Linked DNA regions of Homo sapiens: regions 2, 3 and 4 are each linked to region 1. The links are contacts of gene promoters, found by promoter capture Hi-C in blood cells and fetal thymus (Javierre and others, 2016). All regions are on one chromosome and are shown on one strand. The core of a region is centred on a gene start or on the middle of the fragment in contact, and the rest is flanking DNA. Distances in the headings are between cores, read along the strand shown. Region 1 holds the start of TGM3 (transglutaminase 3). Region 2 has its middle 54 kb from the start of SIRPA. Region 3 has its middle 90 kb from the start of SIRPA. Region 4 overlaps PDYN-AS1 (PDYN antisense RNA 1).

Region 1 (5,316 bases), core at 357-2,856:
GGTATGAATCTCGTGGTTGGAGACTCAGGTTAATCTCTCTGTCCCCCATAAGATGGAAATAATAATAGCCCCTTTGCATAGGGTTGCTATGAAGATGAGAAAAGCTAATATATGTAAAGTGTTTAGCCAGTGCCTGCCCACAGTAAACACTAAATCAATTAGTTATTATTAGTAAGCACTAAATCGGTAGTTATGATTCCCATCTTTACAGTGATATTGATTCACTTATTCAAGAATGTGCATGTTCCAGCCACGTGTCAAGCCCTGTGCTAGATTCTGAGAAGAAGATTTGAATGATATGCAACCTGTACCTTCAAGGAGCTCAGTCTGGAGATGGGGACATATATAAACAGATAGTTCCAGTGCAGTGGATACATACGGTAATAGAGGTTCTAAGATGTACAAAAGGCTGTAGGGGCCTAAAGGACGGAGAAAGGACACTGATTTCTCTTTTTCAATTTTCCAAGCCACCTGCCTATTCCGTCTTCTCTTTCTCGAGATCAAACATTCTCACTTCTCTCTAAAGACCCAACCTTGTCATCATGGTGCTCAATCTTCCTTCCACACTGTGATGCTGGGGAAAGCCTTGGGGCATTTCTGTTCTCTCGTGAATCCTTGAAGCCTCACTTTAAAAAATATATACTCACTCCTTTGTCCATCGTAAACCTTGATATTTGTAAATATCGATAATAGGAACTTTGAAAAAACATACGCCCTTAGAAACAAGCAAGCAAACAAAAACACGTAGAATGTCAGAGCTTCTCCCCACTCCACACCCTTTCTTTAAACTGATGTCAAGGTGGGCCCAGTGAGGGTCAGTGACGGAACCTGCAGTCTGAGAAAGACATGGCAGAAGCATAAGGTTAGAGGCTGTTCCTGCTGCCTCATTAAAAACAACAATTTTCCCCCAAATCTGGACTGAAACTGACATTCAACGCCAAGTGTGATCTCAGTTTAACCTGCCCTGGTAGATATGCATACACTTCCCATGCGCACCATCTCATGTGATCGTGTCCACAGCTTTGTGAGTTGAGAGGGGTGGGAGTGATTATCCCCAACCACAAGCAAGGCTTCCGGGCTTCAAGGGTTGGAGACCACCCAGGGCTCGGCCAGCATCAGAACCAACGGCTTCTAATTCCAAATCAAATGATGGTTTATGCCACACTACAACCCTAAACAAATGAACTGTGATGTGTCTCACTTCCCTGTGCAAGTGGAAGATGCTAATACATGTGTATCATGAGAAAGGACCTCACAATTTTCTTCTTCTGGGTTCTGCTGAGACGTTTCTTTGATTCAGAGAGAACTTCCCAGGATCAGCAAGAAAAGCATGTCATCATTTCCTAAACCCTACAATCCAGGAAATAGTCCATCATTTTATAAAATTATAAAAGCGAACTATTTGAGTTTCTTTATTATCTGCCCCCTTCTCCCCAAGCTGGTCTTGTACAAACATGATGCACGTCCATTGGGTGACAAGTCTGTCGTAAGTGAAACGTTTACAGGCACTACAGGAATGACCTGGTGCCTCGCCCACTTCATTAGAATTCTAATTGGGGTGTGTAGGAGAGGATTCTATAAATGGTAAGGCAATCCTTGGCAGCCTGTCTGTCAGCACTGTCCGTGCCATTCCCAGAGGAGCCTGAGAAGAGGCAGAGGAAGGCGAAACATGGCTGGTGAGTGCATGGCATCTTCTCCATCAGGTCCTTGCCAGAAGCCTGTGCTTCCCCTGGGCCAGCCTGCCAAGCCAGAGTGTCCGGCCAGGACAGCTGCCTGCCTTGGGGGCTCTGAAGGCCAGACTTCCTATTTTAGGGTGCTAGCCAGAGGCGGCTCTTTCTCAGTGGTGGTTGGGTCCCTCTAGCATATTCTTGGGGTAGAACATCATTGGAATGTAGCTCTGAATAATGGGCAGGGTGTTCAGTGCAGCTGGACATCGCATCTCCTTAGGCAGAGGACAAGCTTTGCCTTGTTTGTGTTTGCGTTTCTTTTACACATCCGTCGCCACCCGTAAAGCCAAAGCAGACAGGACTCGGGTCTCGTGTTTCTCAGTGTAGCTGTATCCAGCTGTCAGCAGTGTCAGCAAAGAAGCACATCTCAGAACTACCAGGGAGTGAGAGTGGTAACATGTAAGTTGATTTGAAAGAAACCATTGTTTATTTCAAATCAACTTACTTAGGAGCATTAGGAATGCTCCTAAGTAAGCTACACATCAGAAGCATCAGACAGGCTCTGTGTAAGTGACTTGATGAGCTGAAGCCTCCCCGTAGCAGGAGCAGGTGTGCCACAAGATGTCCTGGTCCACAGGAGAGCACCAGGGAACAGGGGTTACAAAGAACAACAGGAAGTGCAGGTTCCCCCACTCTATGCTTACTGTCGAGGATATGGGCCTTTGTTAATCAGCACCCCTGCTAAGCAGCATGCTAATTATTATCTGTCTTGTGTGCTCAGCCTAGTAGGTTGACAGGGACGCCAAATCCAAACAAGATATGAGTCAAACTTGTAAAATATTGTGAATGGCGATTAGGGCTGCTGGAAGATTGGCCAAAGACATCACTGAGCCAAATGCAACAGGCAAATGCTGGCTACTTCAGAAGCCACAAAAACTGGGACAGGTGATTGCACATTAGGCCCCCTCCCCTGTCTCCCATTCCTTGCTGTAATGTACAGCATGGCTGGGATGCTAAGAAGAGGAGCTCTGGACCCTACACACTGCAGCAAGAGGGGAGGTCAGATGTCATCTAGCCCATCTCCCTCCCTCCAGGAGGTGGCTGAGGCCCAGGAAGGGGTGGAACCTTACACACAGTGAATCCATCGCAGAGCCAGCTAGGTCTCAGCAGTGCCCTTTCCACCATGTCCTGCTGCCAGAGCTGAGCTCCTACATAAGTGCACATAACATCTGGAACATAAAAAAGCAATTCTGAACCTGGCTTCTCATTTGAGCTTTGTGACCAACTGCTTGTGTGTTCTCTGCCACCCCTGAGCCTCAAGTTTTCAAGATGAAAGCTTTGAAATGAATGCGTTTTGAGGTTCCTTCCAGTACCGACTTTTCTTTCTCCACAAAAAGAAACCAGAGCCAGGGAGTGGACAGGCACGTGCCCAGCCCCCAGGAATGTGCACCTCCCATCCCTGTGCAGGACCTCCCGTGGACTCTCAGGAATGGCCTGCCCGCTGTGAGGCATGATTAAATGTCTCTGTTAACAACCAGAGATGTTCTAAAGTCACAACAGAATGAGGCTGGTGGGGAGAAAATCAATTTTGAAAAGGTGGTGGAGAGACAGGCGAATACATTCAGTCCCTTAAATTTGTCCCACTTGCAGTTCCCAGCTCAGCTCCGAGTCACTCAGCCAGGAAGTTCCCAATCAGTGTTTCTTGGATGAATGAATTTATTCACTGAACACCTAAGGGAGAAGAGCTGTGCCAGGTGCAGTGGGAAATATGGAGGTGAATGAGATGTGGTTCTGTCCTCGGTAGCTTTTAGTCTGATATTTTTTGGTACCACCGGTTTTTTAGGTGAGCAGCATGCAAGGCAGACTGTTATTAAGCTGCATGACAAATACAAAACAAGTGCTACGGGGACCAACAAGAGAAGGAGATTAGTCTTGTCTGGAATTTGGGATAGGGAAGACTCTGAAAAATGGTCACAGACAATGAGTTGGACTTGGTCTGGAGAGGTTTTGCAGGGCAGAGGGAACAGGAAAATAAATGTCAGTGTGAGCAGGTGTGACCCAGGGGACTATCGGGATGACAGGTGTGCTGCTTTGAGAGGACTCTGTGTCCAGCTCCTAATTTAAGGTTCTTGTTGCAATCAGAAGGGGTTCCATTATTCCACCCCTTGGTGGAGAAGGCAGCCTGGGCTGTGGCTGGAAATGAAGGTAGTGGAGGAAGGCCTGGCAGTGATCCGCACCAAGTGGCCTGGCATCCCCAGAGTGGGTGGGAGAGCAGTTTGTGAGCACAGAGGAGGGCCCCAGTGTGGAGGGGAGGCAAGATTCCCCATCCCCAAAGCCACTTGGAAGCCCTGGGTTAGTGGCAGAGTTCTCAGGGTACACACCTGAACCACAGGCTTCTGCCTGCAAATGACCAGAACCTCTGTTTTGGGGACTAATGGCTCTGTCCCTCTGGGGCAGTGAGCTTTCTTGCCAACTACTTTTCCAGGCAGAGCACTGGCCTTGGCTTCAGGGACTTCCCATCTCAAGGCCTCATTTCCTCCACCCCCAAAGGACCTGTACCATTCCCAGCGTCTGGGTCTACCACCAAACCGTTCTCCTTGGAGCTGGGACACCAGTCGCCCCTCCTCCCATGGAAGCGGTCAGGAATTGCTCTTGGGTTCTGGCCTCCTTCTCTTCTGTAAATCTTCTAGGTGCTTCCTGGACCCTCCTCATATTTTTGTGTCTGGCACTGGGACCAAGGCAATATCTACTCTCTCTCTCTCTGAAAAGGAGATGGCCCCTCTGGGCTCAGAGTCTTGTGACTCCAGCTGCTCATTGTTTGAAATGAGGACCAGCTGCCTCCTGTCTGCCCGGCTCCATGGCCTTCTTCCACCTGGGACAGCGGCTACTCCCTGTTCCTTAGAGACAGCCCATGAGCAGCTTCATTCCACCGGGAATGACAGCTGCCCGTATTTCAGCGTTTGTTCCTGTAGGATTCCTTACAGGATAGCTGATGGGTTAAGAGTGCAGGTTCAGAGGTGCTCTCTGGATCAAGGCTCCACTCTGCCCCTTACGAGAAGAGTGGTCTTGGGCAGGTCACTTAACTTGTGTGTCTCAGTTTCCTCATCTCCAAAATGGGGTTATTGCAGTATCCACCTCATGGGTGCTTACGATTACCTGGAAATTTTTTCATGAGCCTGTTTTCTCCTTGTCTTGGGGGGACTTAAGAAAAACCCTATGAGAGGAATTACATTTTCTAATCAGGGGCGATTCCCAGGGGACCCTCTCCATTAAGCGCCTCAGCACAAGTCCTCCCCACTCCCGCTTCATCCATTCCCAAGTCCAAAGTCCTCATGCCTGAGCACTCCCCTTGTTCACCTCAAGTAACTTCATGCGGCTCCACCCCGCAGGGCTGTCTCTGCAGATGGAGCAATCATTCTCCTCCCCAGGGCCCACGTGCCAGGCTGGGGTGTGTGCTGAAGTTAGGAAATCTCGCTTAGCAGTGGAGGGCACAAGGCCCTAGGATCTTGGTAGGAGCTGAGAGATGGGAGTCAGAAGGAGTCAGCCTTCCCCTCCCTCAGCCTGATTTTCCTTATTTGTAAAAAGAGGACAGCGACTCCTCCCCTGCCTCCTTCCTATAGCTGCCGGGTGGCTCTGGTCAGGTAATTTA
Region 2 (5,327 bases), core at 2,672-5,171, 450 kb before region 1:
TAGGACAGCTGACATGAAGGGACTCACAATGATATACAGATACAGACTCACACAGAGAAACAGAGATATGCACATGGCAGCCACATGTGCATAGCAAAGAAAGGTACTTGCAAACACACAGACATACACAAATCCATAGGAATACCTGGGTGCCCAGAGACTCACAGACACACAGACATCCAAAGACACACACAGAGGACACTTGGACACCCAGAGATACATCCAGACATACACATAGACACACAAAGGACGTACAGACACACACTGCTCACTGCCTGTGTGGTCCAGGCAGCTTGCCCAAACTCTCTGAGACCCAATCGCATCATCTTTCAAAAGGGCATCACAATCCTAGCTTGTGAGGACAGGGAGGAATAACGAGGAAAATGGCTGCGTGTGCTCAGACACCTTCATTCATCCAGCCAGACAATATTATTGAGCATCTACTATGTGCCATGTGCCTCCTCCGAGCTGAGAACAGGAAGCTAACAAGGACCTACCCTCAGGAAGCTCACAGTCTCCTTCGGAAGACAATAAATACAGGAACAAAGCAACAGCTAAGAGTGACTCGGAAGACAATAAATATAGGAACAAAGCAACAGCTAAGAGTGACTCGGAAGACAGTAAATACAGGAACAAAGCAACAGCGAAGAGTGACTCGGAAGACAGTAAATACAGGAACAAAGCAACAGCGAAGAGTGACTCGGAAGACAATAAATATAGGAACAAAGCAACAGCTAAGAGTGACTCGGAAGATAGTAAATACAGGAACAAAGCAACAGCGAAGAGTGACTCGGAAGACAATAAATATAGGAACAAAGCAACAGCTAAGAGTGACTCGGAAGACAATAAATATAGGAACAAAGCAACAGCTAAGAGTGACTCGGAAGACAATAAATATAGGAACAAAGCAACAGCTAAGAGTGACTCGGAAGACAATAAATACAGGAACAAAGCAACAGCTAAGAGTGACTCGGAAGACAATAAATATAGGAACAAAGCAACAGCTAAGAGTGACTCGGTGGAGGAACCGGTTAGGGTAGTCAGGGAACACTTCTCTGAGGAGGTGACATTCGCCTGAGACAGAAGGAATGTGATGGAACTGACCAGAAAGGGTAGAGAGAAGAGTGTCCCAGTTAGCGGGAACAGGAGGTGCAAAGGCGCTGAGGTCAGAGCAGGGCTCCATGTGGCCAAGAAGCCCCAAGGAGATCAGTGTGGCTGCAATGGAGGGAGGAGACAGGGGATGAGTTTGAGAGTAACTGGAGGCCGGAGCAGGCAGGGACTTGAAGACTGAGTGATGTACTGTGGGTTTCATTCTCCATAAAATGGGACCCACAAAAGTGTTTCTATCAGGGATCATCTGGTCAAAATCGCATTTTAAGTAGCTCACTTTGGCTGCTGGCAGGAAACTGCCTGGATGGGGCAAAACAGGACATCGGGAGCCTAGCATTGGGGGCTGTCACAGCATCCAGGGGAAGGGTGGCTGCAGGCTGGACCAGGGTGATGGCAATGGCCATGGATGGTCCTTGAAATTGTGCATTCAGCACATCTTTACTGAGCTCCTATTCTGTGCCAGCCATTGGGGATGCAGAAGCCAACAAGAGAGAAATTCCTGCCTTCACAGGGCATGCAATCTAGAGGAAAGAGAATGGTAACTGAATATAATATATGCCAGTGGTAAGTGACGACAAGTGCTGTGGAAAAAATCAAAGCAGGGAAGGGTGTGGAGATCTGCCAGGGAGGAGTGGGGCAATTTGTAGTTTTAAACAGGAGAGTCGGGAAAAGTCTCATTGAAAAGGCCACATTTTAGTGAAGATGTAAAGGAGGCATGAGATAGAATCTGGGACAGAGAGTTCCAGGCAGAGGAAACAGTGAGTGCAAAGGCCCGGAGGCAGGCCCACTCCTGGTTTGTTTGAAGAAAGCAAGGAGGTCCCTGTGGCTGAGCTGACTAAGCTGGTGGGGGCGGGACAGATCATGCAGGGAAGGAAGGGAAGGAGGAAGGGGCTGAATGGGCAGAAGAGACTGGGACCTGGATGCCTATAGGAGGGAGGGAAACCAGCGAGACAGGGCCTGGCCCCTTCTCCATCCTGCTCCCCCGACCCAAGGAAGCAGCATCTCCCATTCCTCCTTTCATCCCACAAAGCTTCATCAGCCAAAAAGTGAAAGTTTAAAAAGGGAGGAACTGATCCCAGGAGAGGCAGGGCCCTGAGATTTGCCTGAACCCAGGTCAGACCCCAGCCCGGGTGGGGTGTGACTTCCTGTGGCTCTGATGGAATTCTCACTGTCCTCCTCAGGATGCATTCCTGGGCCTGAGGCACAGAAAGAGGACACACAGCCAATAGCAGCCAGTTTCAGGGCTCCTAAGCCTGCTGGGAGACACCCCCAGCCTCAGGCAGTGCTGTCGGGGTGGGCTACCTAAGCTGCAGGTGAGAAGAATGGTGGCTAATTAGGGTGCTGCCTCCTTCTCACTCTCCAGGTCCCAGGGATACCCTGAGTTGGATTTCAGGCTCATTAATGTCTTGGCAGAGAGGCTCTGGCTGTGAGCTCTCTCCAGCTGCCCAGCCTTGCCTGGCAGGAGTAGGGAATAGAAGGGAGACTCACAGGGGAGTCATCTACCCCCAGAGTCAGTCCCAAGGCAGGCCCAGGGTTGAAGGACGTCCTAGAGGACGTCCTAGAGCCCAGTGACATTGGCTGAGACACTCTCCCTCCCTGAGCCCCTTTGTCCCTGTCTCTCCAAGGGGATCATAGGCCTTTTCCCACCTGACTTCCAGAGCTGGGATGAACCCAAATAAAGGATGAAAGTGAAAGTGCCCTGAATCATTAAAGAGACAGGCAGAACTCCCTGTGCCACCCTGGAGGGATCTGCAGGATGGGTTGTTACGTAAGACAAGGCGCCTTGCAACAACTGCTGCCTGGCTGGCCTCCCAGCTTCTGCCCTTCCGTGGTGGCTGTTCTCCCCTGGTAGCCCCTGGATTCTGTTACATAAAATACCAGGTCAAAGAATTCCCATGGGACCCAGCAATTCCACATCTGGCTCTATACCCAAAAGAACTGAAAGCAGCGTCTCAAATAAGTATCCGCACACCCATCTTCATAGCAGCATCATTCACAATAGCCGAAAGGAGGACGCAACCCAAGTGTCCACTGGCAGATGAATAAATGGATAAGCAAAGTGTGGTATATACATATAATGGAATATTATTCAGCCTTAAAAAGGAAAGAAATTTTGTCACACGGTACAGCATGGATGAAACTCAAGGATATTATGCTAAGGGAAATAAGCCAGACACAAAAAGATAAATACTGCATGATTCCACTTATATGATTCATCTTGAGTAGTCAAATCCATAGCAACGCAAAGTAGAATGGGGCTGGGGGACGGGGGAATTCGTGTTGAATGGGTGCAGTTTCGGTTTTGAAAGATAAAACAGCTCTGCATGCGGATGATGGTAACGATTGCACAGTGATATGAATGTGCTTAATGCCACTGAGCTGTACACTTAAAAATAGTTAAAATGGCCAGTTTTATGCTGTGTATATTCTACCACAATAAAAAAAATTGCACCAAAAAACCCCAATGAAACCAATCCTAGCTCAGTCCTCTCCTCTGCTCCATCTTCCTGAGGCTCTGGTTGTATGCCCCAACCTGCATTCCCCATGCCACCCCATATGTTCTGCACTGCGCCTCCCTGACCCATCTCCTGCCCCTCCCCTCGCTCACTTTGCTCCAGCCCTGCTGGCTTGTTCACTCGTTCTCCAACCCACTAATTTCATGCCATGCTTGGGGCCTTGGCACCCAATGTCCTCTCTACCAAGAATCTGTCCTGGATATCTGCAGGGCTTGTTCCTCCCCATCCTCCAAGCTCAAGTCAAATGTCTCCTCAGAGGAGACATTTCCTTGACCCCCTGGACTGAAAGCACCCCCCCACAACCCCACTCCTATCCTCCTCTATCCCTTTACCTAAATGTATGTCTTTCATAACATGTATTAATATCACTACCTGGAAGAATACTTTAGCTTTGTCTGCTGGCTACTCTGTTAGAGTGTCAGCTCTGGAGGGTAGGAATCTCACTTTTTCATGCCTCACAACAATGCCTGGCACATAGTAGGTGCTCAATGAATAGTTATCAAATAAATGGAGAATGATCTTATTGATGTATGATGCATACCTATGACACACATGTTATATCTGTGCAGATGTAAATATATGGGAAAGGCCTGGAAACATGTCCACCAACATACAGTGGTGAACCGGGGAGGAGGGTGGGCAAAGAGGATGGGGGAGTGGCTGTCAAGGGGCCCTTTCAGGGTTCACTGAGTTCACTCAGCTGCTGCATGCAACTCTTACCATGCAGATCATAGGTATGTGAGTTTTAAAAAAGAGCTCTGAGGTGATGCTATGTCCCATGTAGCGTCTATGAGTGATTCTCCCCAGCCTCCCAACTACCCTGCAAGGGCGTTGTTACTCCTACCCTTCTATGAAGCGAAGCGCATTCTGCATTCCCCAGAGTCACCGAGCTCCTGCTACACACCAGGCATGGTTCTGGGCTCGGGAGACACCAGAGTGAAGAAGCAATCCTGCTCTCATGGAGCTTACACTTCAGTGGGGCAGATGAACAATAAATAAATAATTAAAACAAGTCTGTTGGGGCAGGGAACAGAATGGAGAAGTGTACAGAGTGAAGGGGCGAGAGTAGAGAGAGCAAGGGAGGTGAGTGGAGGTTTGCAATTTAACAGCGACACCAGGAAAGCCCTCACTGGGAAGGTGACATTTAAGACCTAAAGGAGGTGAAGGGGTGCTCTGATTTTACTGTGTCCCCTAAAGCTCATGTGTTGGAAACATAATCCTCAATGCAACAGTGTTAAGAGGGGCACTTTAAAGACATGATCAGGTCATGAGGACTCTGCCTTCATGAATGAATTGACGCTGTTATCACAGGAGTGGGTTACTGACAGAGTGGGTTCCTAGGCCAGGCGTGGTGGCTCACATCTGTAATTTCAGCACTTTGGGAAGCTGAGGCAGGCGGATCACCTGAGGTCAGGAGTTTAAGACCAGCCTGGCCAAACATGGCAAAATTCTGTCTCTACTAAAAATACAAAAATTAGCTGGATGTGGTGTCAGGTGCCTATAATCCCAGGAGGCTGAGGCAGAAGAATCACTTGAACCTGGAAAGTGGAGGTTGCAGTGAGCGAGATTGCACCACTGCATTCCAGCCTGGGCGGCCGAGTGAGACTCTATCTCCAAAAAAAAAAAAGACAAGAAAAGAAAAGAAAGAGAGAGTGCATTCCTAATAAAAGGATGAGTATGACTCCCTTCTTCTCTCTCTTT
Region 3 (4,608 bases), core at 1,751-4,250, 490 kb before region 1:
CCGCAGAAGCGCGCCCACGCCCGAGACGGCCGTTTCCGCCGGCCTGGGAAAGGGGCGGAGAAGGGGGTCGCCCGGGCCGCAGCGTGCCGGTCCCCGCCGGCCGAGCCGTGTTTGGGGCCAGTCCCCGCACCCCGCTTCTTCCCCACCTGGGGAGCGGGGCGCCGCGGTAGGGGCACTGGAGCGCACGATGCACCCCGCCAACGAGTCCTTTCTGCAGACGGGGTTCCTGTTTTCATGCAAATGCCTTTGTTAGCGCACCGGGAACCAGGGGGACGGAACTGCAGCTGACGCGGGCTGCGCGCCGCTTTTCCGCCTTCGCTTGATTCGGCCTCAACGACTTAAACGCGCCGGGAACAAAAACGCCGGCGCCGCGGAAACCCTCAGGAGCGGCACGAGAAGCGCGGCTCCGCTGGGGTCCGCGAGAAGCGGTGCGGGCGGCCGGGCTGGTGCCTGCAGGCCCTCTCACCGCATCACCAAGGGCAAGGAACCTCCAACTGTCCCTCAGTTTCTCTACCTGCACTGGGATGTCCTACATAAGGAGTCAGCTCAGTGCCCGCATCTTGCTGTAATTATTTTGTCCAAGCACTGTGGGAGGCAGCGTTGAGGAGGCTGTTGTGGGGAGTTTGCCTGTCAGAGAGAAGAGGGAAATAAACAAGAAACATACAGACAAAATAATTTCAAATAGCAACAAGTGTTAATATCGTAGCAAACACCAATGCAGCGCTTATGCCAGGCTCTGCTCTATGCTATATGCACATTAGGTCATGTAATCCTCACTCCCTTGTACAGATAGGAAAATGCTGGTTGAATAATCTATTGAAGGGAAATAGGAAGTTGAACAATATGTGGAGAAACAGGTTGCACGATAGGTGGAGAAACAACAGGTTGCACGATATGTGGGGAACCAGGTTGAACAATAGCCTCAAGTGCGCAGTAGGTAGGCTCGGCACTTGAGAATATTGGGCCCAGCCTGGGTTTCGACCCAGCCAGTCCAGCCCCAAGTGGAAGCTTTTGCACACTCCATTACACCAGTTTTGGCTGTACTAGGAAGGATGTAAAGTGGTGACACGCCCAAGAGAGAGCTGGGGCTAGACAGGAGCTGCTCCTAAAAGGATGTCAATGGACGTCTCTGTGCAAGAGAGTAAGCTGAGGCCTGCACAGTGAGAGGAACTAGCCATGCAAAGAGCTGGGCGTGTCCAGCAGAGAAAACAGCAAGGGCAAAGGCCTTGAGGTGGGAGAGTAGATGTGGGGTTTCATGAACATAAGGATGGAACTCAGTGAGCAGTAGTAAGGAGACTGGAGATGGTCAGCAGCTGGGGGTAGCAGGCTTTGCAGGTCTCGGCAAGGAGCTGGACTTTTATTCTAGGTGTGATGGGAAGTTGTGTTGTTATGGCCACTGAAGGAGTTGCGTGGATGGAGTTGGACCAGAGGGTGGGTGCCCTTCCTGCCTTGCCAGCCTTAGGTTCAAGGAGGAAGTTGATTGCTTAGGCCTTAAGCTTGCCCCTCCTCATCTGACCTCCTGGCTTCTAGGACATTCCTGAGGACGTACACCAAGTCTCCAACATTACCTGATGTCAGATCAGGTAAGCCCTCATCTTATAGATAGGGCTAAGACTGAGGCCCTGACTTCAGGGATGTGTCTTCACCTTTGAGTAGGAGAAGCAGGGGTGGTATCTGCTTCATCTACTCATGTACCTGCAGCACCTAGCACAGGCTGACCAGCCCATCCTTGGACCCAGGCAAGCGGGGCTCTGCCCTGGCCAGCCTCCAGCTGCGTACATCCCCACAGGCTAGAGAGTCTGCAGTGCCAAGGGGATATACCCATCCAAGTCTTTGCTCCTTGTCTAGAATACTACAGATTCCTAGGATTCCTGAGCTCCCTACCTAAAAGTCCCAAGCCTGCTGCCAGGCCTCTTCCTGGTCTATTGTCTGGAGGCAGAACACTAAGCCCAGGGTGTAGCCAAGGGGCACTGCAGAGGATAGGGTGTGGATGGAGATTGGACCTGCAGCCTGGGATGTCTACACACATGCAGGTGAGGTGTGCACGGTACAGGATGGAGCTGGGGATGAGAAGGGAAGGTGGCAGTTTATAGGCTGGGAAATGAGCGACCAGGGAATGGGGCTGGCTCTCCCCAGCACCGCCACATTTCAGTGCGAGTATCTAAGAAATCCAAATCAATCCTGGCCTTTCAGGCTGCTGAGAAGTTATACTTACTGAGGAGAAGGATAGAACATTTAAGAGAAGGTATTGGTCTGATTTATAATTTTTAAATATTTAGATTTAAGGGTGAGTGGACACCAGCCTCCACCAATATCAAGAGTGTGTTTGGCCTAGACCCTAGGAGATATTCAATATTTATCAAATAGATGGATGAATCTCATTTAATTTAATCCTCACACAGACTCAACGGAGGGAAATCACATCGTCTGTGCTTTATTGATGAGGGAACTAAGGCTTGGAGAGATTTAATGACTGGCCTATTTGTCAAGTTAGAAGTTTGTCTAGCAGAGCTGAGAGCCTCAAGCCCTAACGTGTCTGATTCCAAAATCCATTGCAATTGGTTCATGACAAGTTCACTCCCATTATGACCACATTAAATATATTATAACTGTTTGAGCATGTCACTCGCTGATCTTTGGGAACATAAGCACTGTTTATATTACATGAAAAAGGCCTTCTCTTCTTCATTCTTACTCTACCCTCTCAGGCACCTTTGGGAAGTAGTAAGACAGGAGCTAATGCTCCATTTAACAAATGGAAAACTGAGGACTGAGCAATAGCCCAAGGTGTCAACGAGGCTTAAACAAATAGGGATTTTTTTTTTTTTTTTCATGTAGCAAGAAATCCGGAGGTAGCTGGGCAAGGGCTGGTATAATTTTTGCATTATTTTCAGCAAACAACTTCTGCCTCTTGGTCTCTTCTGGCTATTTATTGCTACAGCATAACAAACTGCCCCCAAACAACAACCATTGTATCGTCTACAGTTTTGTGAGTCAGAAATTTGCGCAGGGCTCAGCTGGGTGATCCTTCAGTGATCCATGGAGCGCCGACTAGAGTCACTCAGTGATCTTCAGCTGCTGATTGTGCTATGCTGGAGGATCGAGATGGTTTCACTCAGGTTCCTGGTGCTTTCGTGGGGATGGCTGGAACACTGAGCTCAGCTGGGTCCGTCTGCCTCTCCATGGAATCCCAGGGCTTCTCCAGGTGGGTGTCTCCAGCAGAGTAGTTTGACCTTTTTCATGGCAGCTCATGGCTCCCAGAGGCCATAGCAGAAACTGCCAGTCCTCCTAGAGGTTAGGCCTGGAGTGGGCGTGACATCATTTCCACCATACTCTATTGGTCAAAGAAGTCACAGGTCAGCCCAGATTTAAGTACAGGGGAAATTGACTCCTCTCAAAGGGAGGAGGATCAAAGAATCCACAGCCATCTTTAAATTATCACATGGTCCGAGCTGCTTGAGATGTAGTCATCATGTCTCAAATTCCAGAAAGTGTGGAGGACTGGTGGAGGAAGGTGTTTACCTTCCCTTTTAAGACATTTTCTGGAAGTCACACACAACATTTTCCATTGGCCAGAACTTACATGGGCATACCTAGGATATGGAAGGGAAACTGGAAACTGTAATCTTTATTGCAGGAGGCAAGCCATGTATTCTGATGAAAATTAGGGATTTTGTTGACTAAGGAAGAAGGGGAGCATGGGTATTGAGGACCAACTAAAATCTATTCCATGGTTAGGTGTTTTGTTGTTGTTGTTGTTGTTTTTGCTACCAACAGCCAAACACTGTTCCTAGCAGAGATGTTTCTATACCAGTCTTCTCCTTCCTAACACATCTTCCACTCTGTCATCAAAATAATCTTTCCTTTTTTATTATTTGTTATGTTCCTATACCGTATATCTTTTAATCATTCCTATGCCAACAGCAAGTGTCCGAATTATTTTGTGTTGTGTGAAACAGTAATGGGGTTTGCCACACACCAGGCACTGTGCCAAGCACTAAATGAACATATCTCACTTGATCTCCGCAGTATCCCACTGAGTGAGGATCACAGACGAGGAAGCAGAAACCCAGAGAGGTTAAATGACTTGCTCCGGGCCACACAGAGAGTAGGTGCAAGGCTGAGATTCAAACCCTCGACTGTCAGATTCCAGAGCTGTGCTGTGAAACCCACACATGTGAAGCTCAGGGACTGTTTATGGATGACAGCCCCGGAGCATGGGCAAGACTTGTGCCTGGTGTGTGAAGGTTACAGGTGACAAATGTGAGCCAAGAGCCTGCAGATGCTCCCTTCCCGCTGTGATCCTTCAGTAGGGAAGACTGCATCAAGCCCCAGGGCCATGCTGGCATATTTCATGAAATTAAACTGGCACCAGGAATTCATATCATTCTATTTCCTTTACACCCTGACTGAACCCCAAGTCTGGAGGAGACTTTGCAGAACTGGCTACATTGCTAAGCAGGGCACAGGCCCAGTTAAATGAGGCACCTTTCTGCTCCAGCTCCAAGCTTCTCTGTTCTGACCCCGGTCTTTCTTGCCTTTGCCTCACCCCTGTTCGAGGACATGCAGTGACTCCCTGTTCCCCTCAAGTTCAGTTTTGCCTTTCTC
Region 4 (4,906 bases), core at 396-2,895, 340 kb before region 1:
ATCCTCTGGGAGCTGGTTGGGAGTGCAGCATCTTAGCCGCAAGCCTCACTGAGTCTGCATTTTCTTTTTTTTTCTTTCTTTTTTTTTTTTTTTTTTTTTTTTTGAGAGGGAGTCTCGCTCTGTCGCCCAGGCTGGAGTGCAGTGGCGCGATCTCGGCTCACCGCAAGCTCCGACTCCTGGGTTCATGCCATTCTCCTGCCTCAGCCTCCCGAGTAGCTGGGACTACAGGCGCCCACCACCACGCCCGGCTGATTTTTTTGTATTTTTAGTAGAGACGGGGTTTCACCGTGGTCTCGATCTCCTGACCTCGTGATCCGCCCGCCTCGGCCTCCCAAAGTGCTGGGATCACAGGCGTGAGCCTCCGCACCCGGCCAAGTCTGCATTTTCACAAGACCCCCTGGTGATTCATTCACACTGAAGAAGAACTGCTGGAGTTGCTGTATGATTTAGGGGAACCATTTTCTTCTCTACTTCCCTTCTACCCAAAATATATACCATCTCACTGAGTATTGAAGCGGAGTTCCTTTTTTTTTTTTTTTTTTTTGAGACAGAGCCTCACTGTGTCTCCCAGGGGAGTGCAGTGGTGCAATCTCAGCTCACTGTAGTTTCCACCTCCCTGGTTCAAGCGATCCTCCCACCTCAGCCTTCCAAGTAGCTGGGATTACAAGCCTGTGCCACCACACCTGGCTAAATTTTGTATTTTTAATAGAGATGGGGTTTCACCATGTTGGCCAGGCTGGTCTTGAACCCCTGACCTCAAGTGATTCACCCACCTTGGCCTCCCAAAAAGTGCTGGGATAACAGGCGTGAGCCTCTGTGCCTGGCCCCTTCTTCTTTTTTTTTTTTTTTTAAAGAACATGTATTTTTTTCTTTTACTTTGGATGCAGAAGTTCATTATGTACCTTTTGGAATTATAAAACAAAAAAATATATATAAAAAAATCACCCAGAACCCCACCATTCAGAAGTGACACTGTTAATATTTTAATGACCAATCCATCAGACTTTTTTATACATACATATACTTTCTTTTTACAAAATTTCGAGAAAAGATGCAATAGTGTTGTATTCAGGCTCAGAAAATAATACCCCAGAATCTGGCGCTTTGACGTGCTGAACTGAAGAAGCGGTTTCAAGGTCTCTTTCTGACCTTGCCCTGCCTCCCTGTCTCTCTGATCCTCTTACTTTCCCAAAGCACCAGGAGGGGCTGTCGCTGGAATTTTCTTATCTGCCTAAGAAAGCTTCTTTCCAAGAGAAATGCAATTTCTTAAAACTCCCCGTCCCTAGGAATCTCATCAAATAACCAGGAAAGATTAACCACTGGAAAAGAGACTAGATGTAGTCACCGTGCTCAGACAGACTTTCATTTGTTTTTCTGAGAGCAGCTCCTAGAGATCACCTGGGACGCTTCATCTGCATAGTAAGACAATCTTTGTTTACAGTGAAGGTCTGCCCCTTACCTTCCCGCCACCTCCCCCAGAGCTCAGAAGAATTTTGTCTCAGGCAGTTGTTCTTTAGGATCACTCATTTCCCCTAAAAAGTCACTTACTCCTATACCTCCCATTTCCCCTTCCCCGATGAAGAAGGGCATATAAGGGTTATTGGGTAATCATTCTCCTATAATTCCCCTGTGTTACTCACATTAAATAATTTATTTTATTATTATTATTATTTTTTGAGAGGCAAGATGTTCTTCTGTTGCCTGGGCTGGAGTGCAGTGGCACAATCATAGCTCAACTGCAGCCTCAAACTCCTGGGTTCAAGTGATCCTCCTGCCTCTGATTACCAAGTAGCTGGGACTGTGGACACATATCACCATGCCTGGCTAATTTTTTAAAAAAATTTTTTGTAGAGACAGGATCTTGTTTTGTTACCCAGGGTAGTCTCAAACTTCCGGCTTCAAGTGATCCTCTCACCATGGCCTCCCAAAGTGTGGAATTACAGGCATGAGCCACCATGCCTGGCCTTGTTAAATACAATTTCATATGCCTTTTTCTTTTACTAATCTGTCTATTATAGTTCGTTTTCAGCAAACCTTAAGAGGACAGAGGAGAAGCTTCCCTTCGGCCCTTACAATTGCACAGTGGCTCTCAAAACTGAGCATACATTCACCTGGAAGGGTTGCTCAAACATAGATTGCTGGGCCCCACCCCCAGAGCTTTTGATCAGGAGGTCTGGGACCAGGCCTGGGATTTGGCACTTCTAACAAGTTCCAGGTGATGTGGGGCTGCTGGTCCAGGGACCACACCTTGGGAAGCACTGGACTCAGTGTTCTAAGATTTCCTGAGCACCAGTAGTTGGAATCCAGCTCTGCCACCCACTACCTGCCCACAGGGAAGTTAGGCTGCCTCTCCATGATGCAACTTCTGAGTCCACAAGGACAGTACCTGCCTCATAAGATTATTATTATTATAAGGATTATATGAGTTAATTAGTAAAGCACACAAGAAGTATTAATTATGATGAATATGCATATAATTGTTTAATCAAGATTTCTTAACAATTGTTCAAAAACATTTTTCAAGTCATTATTCTTCAATGTATTTGCTTTCAAAGGCTGTGGGCTTATCCTTCATAGTGATGTATTTATCTAGTCCACAGTCTTCAACTAAACAGTGCTGCAATGAGCATTCTCATGGATAAATCACAGTGCACCTGTCTGCTTATTTCCTTAGGATATAATGTGCTAAATGTGAAATTGCTGAGAAAAATTACATGAGCATATTTAAAACTTTTGATATGTTTTGCTAAATGGCCTTCCAGAAAAATTATACTGATTTATAATGCTACCAGCAGTATATGAGGTCATCTTTTCCTTATATTCTTATTAATATCCCATGTTATTGGTTTTTTAAAATTATGCCAATACTTTGTTTGTTAATTTGAATTTCTTTGATGACTACTGAAGTTGGATGTCCCAGCTTCAATATCTCAGGACTTTAAATATTTTTTAAAATCCCTCAAAGCTTGTGTTTACAGAATGTTAACCAGCCCTTTTCTCCTCAATGAATGAACTCTGTGTCTTGGCAGGTCTCTTGTAGTAGCAGAGGCATCATCTCACAGGTAGCAGCTGCTTGATTTAAATCCCACCTGTGCTGCTGGTAACATACCTCCCATTTAATAGATGGGTGTGGACTAGAGGAGGATGAAACATTAAGAGAGCAAACAGAAGGAGAGAAGTTATTTGTTCCACAAAAATTCTCTCAACATCTCTTACAGGTCAGGCCCTCTGCTAAACTTAGAGGATGCAAAGACAAGGAAGTCTCAAAGTGCAGGGTGGTGGGGTGGGAGAATACACACAAAATAATGTGAAATATAACAGTGCAAATGAAAACAATGGGGTAGGAATCTAATGAAGGAAATGATGGTATCTTTGAAGTCAGAGAGGACCTGGGTTCAAATCCTGTTTCTTTCAACTCCTAGCTTTGGACAGTAATATGCAAAGACTATTTTTAGGCTTAAACTAGTTAAAATGACAGGTAAAAAATACCTGGAAACAAGTAAAGTTTCCTGTTTCCAGGATTCTCACAATTGCAGCCCAAGGGCCAAATATGGCATATAGAAGGTCTTGTTTGGTGCATCCAGTATTTTTGAAAAAAAAATTTAGTAGAGGAATTAGGATGGCTTAGACCAATAGATCCTGGTTGCCCAACTTAAACCCCTGGAAATATATTTGTTCCTCTAGAAGAGATCTGGGTTCATTCACTGACTTCTCCTTCTGGTCAAGGTGGAATAACAGAGAATGGGTTTATCCTCTTAGCTGAAACAAAAAAATCTGGGGAAAACATATGAATCAACAGTTTTCAAGACATTGGACATCAGGCAACACAGAACCGTGATCCCTGAGAGAGAGAAAACAAAAGAGAGCCTAGCAATTGCCTCTGCTTACTATCTGGAGAGAGTTTTCAGGCCACGGCACAGGACAGGGAGTCCAGGTAGGGCCCGGGGGTCTTCCTGAGTTGAAGAGATGGAGCTGGGTGGCTGCTATGGTTAGAATGTTTTTGTCCCCTGTAAAAAATTATGTTGAGGCTGGATACAGTGGCTCACGCCCTTAATCCCAACACTTTGGGAGGCCAAGGCAGGAGGATTGCTTGAGGCCAGGCGTTCAAAATAAGCCTGTACAACATAGTGAGACCCCATCTCTACAAAATAAAATTTTTTTAAATAGCCAGGCATGGTGATGCACACCTGTAGTCCCAGCTACTCAGGAGGCTGAGGTGGGAGGAACACTTGAGTCTAGGAGACTAAGGCTGCAATGAGGCATGGTTATACCGCTGCACTCCAGCCTGGTTAACAGAGCAAAACCCTATCTCCAAAAAAAAAAAAAAATTAAATTTATGTTGAAACCTAACCCCTAATGCAATAGTGTTGGGAGATGGGGCCTTTTGGAAGGTGTTTAGTCATGAGGACTCTGCCCTCATGAATGGATTAATGTTGTTATAAAAGGGCTTCATGAAGGTAGTCTATCCTTTTGCCCTTCTGCCCTCTGCCATATAAGGACATGGCATTTCTCCCCTCTGGAGGACACAGCATTGAAGGCGTCATCTTGGAAGCAGAGAACAGCTCTCACTAGACATCCAACACTGGCATCTTGATCTTGAACTTCCCAGCCTCTAGAACCATGAGAAATAAATTTCTGTTCTTTATAAATTACCCAGACTTGGGTATTTTTGTTGTAGCAATGCAAACGCATTAATCCAGAGGCCAAGGTGTCTGGAGTTCACAGGGCAGAGTATCACTGAGAAGAGAGCTTGTGGGGAGGAGCAGGTTCAAGAGCACAGGTGACCTCTGGCGATCAGCAGAGAGCCCCTCCTGTCTTCTGAGTACTAATGAGCATGTGCATGTATGAAACCTACCTGAGGAGCAAAGAACCACCTGATTAGATTAGAGGGAACAACCCCAGGTTC

The links. Contacts are between HindIII fragments. The CHiCAGO score rates a contact against its expected background, and 5 or more counts as called.
Region 2: a fragment that was not itself captured here is called in contact with the fragment with the promoter of TGM3 in region 1 in 2 of 17 cell types (neutrophils and monocytes); the score reaches 6.4 in neutrophils.
Region 3: a contact is called between a fragment that was not itself captured here and the fragment with the promoter of TGM3 in region 1, in 1 of 17 cell types (neutrophils). The highest score is 6.5, in neutrophils.
Region 4: a contact is called between a fragment that was not itself captured here and the fragment with the promoter of TGM3 in region 1, in 1 of 17 cell types (M1 macrophages). The highest score is 5.1, in M1 macrophages.

The regions. Positions count from the first base shown.
Region 1 is chr20:2,294,395-2,299,710 of GRCh38, forward strand. It overlaps TGM3 (transglutaminase 3), which reads left to right and starts at 1,607. Exons shown (of 13, transcript NM_003245.4): 1 at 1,607-1,676. The coding sequence starts at 1,670. LOC105372503 (a long non-coding RNA gene) reads right to left here. Exons shown (of 3, transcript XR_937203.3): 2 at 2,798-2,896; 3 at 1,427-2,100. RefSeq lists enhancers at 2,311-2,844, 2,845-3,377. The HindIII fragment of the contact is 7,559 bases long and covers 1-1,957 here.
Region 2 is chr20:1,839,076-1,844,402 of GRCh38, forward strand. No RefSeq gene overlaps it. Among named protein-coding and RNA genes, the nearest start is that of SIRPA, 54 kb to the right of the region's middle. The HindIII fragment of the contact is 3,567 bases long and covers 2,139-5,327 here.
Region 3 is chr20:1,803,466-1,808,073 of GRCh38, forward strand. No RefSeq gene overlaps it. Among named protein-coding and RNA genes, the nearest start is that of SIRPA, 90 kb to the right of the region's middle. RefSeq lists a silencer at 1-156. The HindIII fragment of the contact is 3,012 bases long and covers 1,495-4,506 here.
Region 4 is chr20:1,954,124-1,959,029 of GRCh38, forward strand. The region is part of intron 2 of PDYN-AS1 (PDYN antisense RNA 1); the gene reads left to right. Among named protein-coding and RNA genes, the nearest start is that of PDYN-AS1, 9.4 kb to the left of the region's middle. RefSeq lists an enhancer at 390-479. The HindIII fragment of the contact is 815 bases long and covers 1,239-2,053 here.